Regions from separate parts of the Homo sapiens genome. Here region 2 is linked to region 1. The links are contacts of gene promoters, found by promoter capture Hi-C in blood cells and fetal thymus (Javierre and others, 2016). All regions are on one chromosome and are shown on one strand. The core of a region is centred on a gene start or on the middle of the fragment in contact, and the rest is flanking DNA. Distances in the headings are between cores, read along the strand shown. Region 1 holds the start of TRPC3 (transient receptor potential cation channel subfamily C member 3). Region 2 overlaps BLTP1 (bridge-like lipid transfer protein family member 1).

The links. Contacts are between HindIII fragments. The CHiCAGO score rates a contact against its expected background, and 5 or more counts as called.
Region 2: a fragment that was not itself captured here is called in contact with the fragment with the promoter of TRPC3 in region 1 in 3 of 17 cell types (megakaryocytes, total CD4 T cells and naive CD4 T cells); the score reaches 5.3 in megakaryocytes.

The regions. Positions count from the first base shown.
Region 1 is chr4:121,950,798-121,953,497 of GRCh38, forward strand. TRPC3 (transient receptor potential cation channel subfamily C member 3) reads right to left here and starts at 1,263. Exons shown (of 12, transcript NM_001130698.2): 1 at 669-1,263. The coding sequence starts at 883. It overlaps LOC102724158 (a long non-coding RNA gene), which reads left to right and starts at 185. Exons shown (of 3, transcript XR_427598.4): 1 at 185-272. RefSeq lists a silencer at 854-1,123. The HindIII fragment of the contact is 12,740 bases long and covers 1-2,700 here.
Region 2 is chr4:122,246,648-122,249,347 of GRCh38, forward strand. BLTP1 (bridge-like lipid transfer protein family member 1) reads left to right here. Exons shown (of 88, transcript NM_001384125.1): 34 at 36-163; 35 at 511-710. Among named protein-coding and RNA genes, the nearest start is that of BLTP1, 96 kb to the left of the region's middle. The HindIII fragment of the contact is 2,883 bases long and covers 1-2,700 here.

The sequences.
Region 1 (2,700 bases), core at 13-2,512:
CCACTCTCTCCCTCAGGGGACCCTATAGGGCTTCGGTTCCAGTTTTACCCCAAATGTGACTGAACCACAGAGAGACGAGGCGCCTGGGCAAACCTTCAACCCACACCCTGTATCGCACTGTCCCCTCCCTACTCCCCACTTCTCTGCCCCCGCCCCCGACGTCCCAGAGCGTCGGAGGGGACCCAAGTCCACGCTGGGACGCCCGGGAGGAGTTCAGGGTTCAAGTGCGCGCCTGGGTCTGTGCACATCTTCCCCTTCCTCGGCCTCCCTGGGTAAGCTCGGGACCCCGGGGTCCGTCTTCCAAGGGGTGCCCAGCCCTGGCAGCAGTCGTGCGAGCTCCTCGGCTCTAATACAGGGAGTGGCTGCTCGCCAGGATGCTTGTCTGAAGTCAGTGTGCCCGCCTGCGGGCTGTTCCGTGTGCTTGAGCCTGGACAGAGCCCCTGCCACGCACTCGGCAGCCCCTGTGTCCCTCCACCGCGCGGGACCGAGGGGGCGAGCCTCCGGCCGAGGTCTGTCCCCTCCAAATCACTCCAAATCGAACTGCCTGGCCGTACCATGTGGGTCTCGGAGGTCCCGGGCTCGACGTGGAGCCGCCCGGCGCGCGCCTTCCCGCCCCCCGCCCGGCACCGCCCTCCGAGGCGCGGGCCGCGGCCGGGCCCGGTACTCACAGGTCCGGCCCGTGGGAGAAGGGCGGCGGGCAGTAGCCGTGCGGCTCCCGCTGCGAGGGCGCCGAGCGCGGCTCCAGCCCCCCGTTGACGCCCCTCCAGCCCCGGCGGCGGCGCTGCGGCTCCGCGCCCTCGTCCTCGCCCTCGTCTTCCTCCTCCTCCGGCGCCGGGAAGGTCACCCTTGCTTGTTCTTTGCACTTCCTGACCTTGGTGGACATCGCGCCGGCTGCGGTCCGAGTGTGGGGGTGCCGGCTGCCGGCCTCCTCCGCCTTCGCGGCAGTGCAGTCTTCCCGCGGCGCCCCTTCACCACCTCCCGCGGCTTCCGGGGCCCCGGGCGGCCCAGGGCGGGAAGGCAGGAGCGGAGAGCGTCGCGGCCCGCGATCCAGCAGTTAGAGGCTAGCGCCGAAGCCGAGCTGCCGCCGCCCACCATCAAACCGTGGGAGCAGCTGCCGCGGCCGTGGCTGCGACGAGGAAGCCCGGGGCCGAGCGGGGCTCTGGTGCTGGGAGAGGCTCTCCAGCCCCGCGGCGGCGGCGATGCCTCCTCGGCGCCCGTCTCCTGTCTCCGACAGCATCACTTGCTAGGACAGCATCGTTACTCAGGGAGAAGGAGAGGGAGGGCGGGAGGGGGAAGAGGAGGGGGAGAATCAATTCCTTATCAGACAGAGCTGGAGAGGAAATCAGACAGACCGCAGGTGGGGAGTAAAGAAAGAGAAACTTCCCCTCCCCACTCTCTTTCTCTTCCAGAGGATCTAGGGCCCTTTTTGCATCTACAGAAACAAGTTTCCTAAGGAAGGGAAAAGGAAATCCACTGGCTTGTTAATTTTCCTGCAGCCAACTCTCCAAATTTGTCTCAAAAAGCATCACTTGTTCGTTGGGTTACTCCCGGTAAGACTTGGTTGAACCTACGGAGGTTTAAGTACCTTCCCCTGAGTGCCTTCGTACTCCATCCAGCCTGGTAATGTTTTAAACGTGCATGATGCTTCAGTTCTTTTAATGACTCTCAAAGGCGTCTAATAAGATTTATATACTTTCCAAGGAAGATTTTTCAGCGAAATGCAGTCTTCTTTTTAAAACACACTCACAAAAATTGCATTTTAGAATTCAAGACCAGTCATTCTTTTGGGAGGAAAGAGGTACAGAATCTTAGCAGGAATCTTAGGGATCAAGGAGTCTCTTGGTCCTTTTAAATAAGAAACCCTTGGCCTAGAGAGACTGAAAAAGGTACTCATGATAGGTGGGTAGTGAGAAAACTTAGATTAGATCCAGAAGAGTGTGTTCTTCCAGACTTTCCCTTGCTTCAAATAGACGGCTTTCTAGCAAGTCCAACTAGGAAAAATCACAAAAATACTGGACACGCTCTGATGAGATAAAATTTATTTAACTGTATCCAATTATACTGTACTTTTTAGAGGAACAATTCTTCCCAAATTTAAGCAAAACACAAGAAAATGTAGCTCCTTTGAATTTAATTCTTAAAAAGTAAATAAAATATTGTGTATTAAATTGGCAAGTCTATATGTTGAAAGAAGCAATAGCATTTATACATCTAATATAGGAAAAACAAAAACAAGTAAATATTGTATAGTGCTTTATGTTTGGAAGTGCTTTTCAGTTGTTAGTACATATGCAAGTGTTAACGGTTTCACAATGTAGGTTAGCAGACCTATTCAGTTTCACCTCTGGAATATCTCTAAAGCAGGACTGCCCTTCTCCACCCGGTACCACCGCCTCAATTCAGGCTCCCCTGCTTCTCCCTGCTATCCAGCCTTTCTGCAGCCCACCTCTCCCCATACTGTTTCATTCTTTGTACTACTGGAAAGACCATGCTTAAAGCAAAGTCTGATCACGACTTTTCTCTATAAAAATCTCTGGTGGCTTCCCACTACTTTCAGGTTAAAATCCAAGTTTTCAATCTCTCCTCCCATCCTTTTTCATACACATTCTAACTGCAGTTACCCTGAACGCTCAGTCATCAACTGACATGCTAGATACTTTCCCATTTCTCTGCCTTTGTCTATGGCATTCCTGTCACTGA
Region 2 (2,700 bases), core at 100-2,599, 300 kb after region 1:
CACTTGTCAGTTCTGAAATTTTGTGTGTGTGTTAGGTAAACTTATGTTTGTTACAAGCCTCAGTGGAAGAATCTCCAACTACGGCTCCTAGTAGGAGTGTGACTCATGTTTCCCTAGTGGCATTGTGTTTTGACAGAATTGCTACACAGGTTCGCATGAACAGGTAAGAAATACTTTATTAATCTGAGCCATGATTATCTTGCTGGATGTAAAAGCAAGCCTTGATCATCTTTTCTTTTAAAAATACATTTCTAAGAATGTAATGTTAAAACTCAGAACTGGTTTTGGAATTTCAAATCTTAATTTATAGATTAGTAACATATGTCTTTAAAAAATTTTTACTGTTTCTATTCATAGTATCTTTCAGTAAACATTGAATAATTTTTTACTACTATTGGTGTATAATAGTAGAGTGTTTTGTTTTTTTTAAAGGAAACCTTTTAGGTAAATGTTTTCTCTGAACTGTATTATTTAAATGTTAAACATTTTACTCTCTTTTTTTTCATAAAGAGGTGTGGTTGAAGAGACTTCAAACAATGCAGAACCTGGTAGAACATCAAATTTTGATAGGTATGTTCATGCCACAAAGATGCAGCCTCAGTCATCTGGATCTCTCAGATCAAATGCTGGAGCAGAAAAAGGCAAAGAAATTGCAGCTAAGTTAAACATTCATCGAGTTCATGGGCAACTTAGGGGTCTTGATACAACAGGTAGGATTCTACAACAAATATGTTTTTTCTTGGCATATATAAATGTAAGATGATTTTGCAGAAGGGAACATGTTTTTTTCCTTTGACTATTGCTACAATTCGGTATTCTATAAGAAAGAGAAAGGTATTTCTCCCTATATTGAACACGTGGTATTTAGCTACTTGTCACTCACATTCTGTACAGAATAGAAAATAAACTTTGGTAAGAAAATTAAGTGGTATGGCCCCAAATTAGGAACTTCTATTTCCCATGTTTCTATTTCCCATGTGTTTTTTCCATGCTATTTACTTGCTCGTTATAGAACAGAGAAGACATGATCTTTATAGTCTTTCTTATTTTTTAAGTCATTCTGTTTGTAAAACAGTGTTAGAAAGAATTAATTGTAATATTAATCAAAACCAGAGAGTCTGTAAAATACAGCAGCAATAAGGTGACACACATTCCTCTTAAAGTCCCTAGTTAGGTAAAAGGAAAGTAGAGCTGTTATACATCATTTTAATATTTTTGATTCTTATTTAGCACATTTTATCATTTAGATGCTTAAATGTTTTCAGAATGTCAGAGATTCAATTCAGAAAAAGTTAGATTTGCTAATCGTATTTGAGATGATTGCTCTGCTGAAATCTTTATGTGGGACTGGTGACCAATTCTGAGTAAACAAATGAATTCCCTGAATTTGCTTACTGTATTTTATAGGTTCTGAAGTTTCCATGATTCCTGTCTGCATTCTGGGTCTGTGTACCTGTTTTGACTTTCTCAAGGCTTATTTTTTTCATCCCAGGTGTGAGGCTGAAAGCATTTGACCTGAGGTTTTCAAGGGACTTTTCATGACTACCTAAGATCTGTAGTCCTAAAACTGGTGAAAAATGTGGTGGCTTGAGTGAAGACACTTTTATCAGCTCTGTAGTTTGCGTGGGTAACCAATTTGCACTGGGTATTATACAGACCATAAGCAGAACCTTATATAATTTTGAAAGGCATTATCATGCAGAAAACACTCTCATTGAAGACAAAACTCCCAACGAAATTCCAAGGTGGACATTTCTGTAAAAATGTAGATGTCTTTGCTTATATGTACATTAGTTATCTGCCAAAGGTTACTTAATAACCTCATAATATTTGTTACCCTTATAGGGAGGGGAACTAGGTGTCTGGTTGTGGTGTTAGAGGCTTTTCATTGCGTACTTTTTCATAATTTTTTGAACTTTGATACATCTGAATATGTATGGGATTAAAGACAAATACAAAAAAATTAAATAATGAGAAAATTATAGGAAAATGTAGGTGAATGTTTATTCTCTGAATAAGACCTTTTAATTATAAATGCAAAGAATGACATTTCCATAGCATAGAATATTATATAGCTATTAAAATGATATCTTTGAAAAAATTTTAATGACCTGAGGAAATTATTTACTGTTGCATGAAAATGGGAGCCAAAGCTGGGTTTGCAAAGTGATCTCTAAAGGGCTAGAGTGCAGTGTACTTCAAATATAAACAAGTTCTCCTTGAATGGTAAATTTACATGTGTTTTTAATATTCTTTTTGTTTTTTTATATTCATTAGCAATAATCAGAGAGAGAAATGAAAAAAGTAAGATAAAGTAAAACTTCTCTCAGGCACTTGGGGTGTTAATTTCCACAGTGTATCTGTAAGCAGTGGAACCATGACAAGGTCTATGATGAATTGTAGTTATGTAAAATATGTCAGTATAAAACAGTCTTTTAGTAAAAGCTATAATTTGCCTAGAAAATAATGTTTTTCCTAAGGCTTGGTAATTAATTGAATTTTTTTTTTATTTTGTGAGATGATGAAAGTATTTAAAACTACTGTGAAGATAAATTATTTAGGATATTTTTAACTTTATATTTTTTAGAGTATCCTGTAATCATTCAGAAACAAATTCATACTACCTTTGAGCAACTTGTTAATCATAAAATCTTCTTTTCTTCCTCTTAGGCAGCATTATTCTAAAAGTTAGCTCATTTG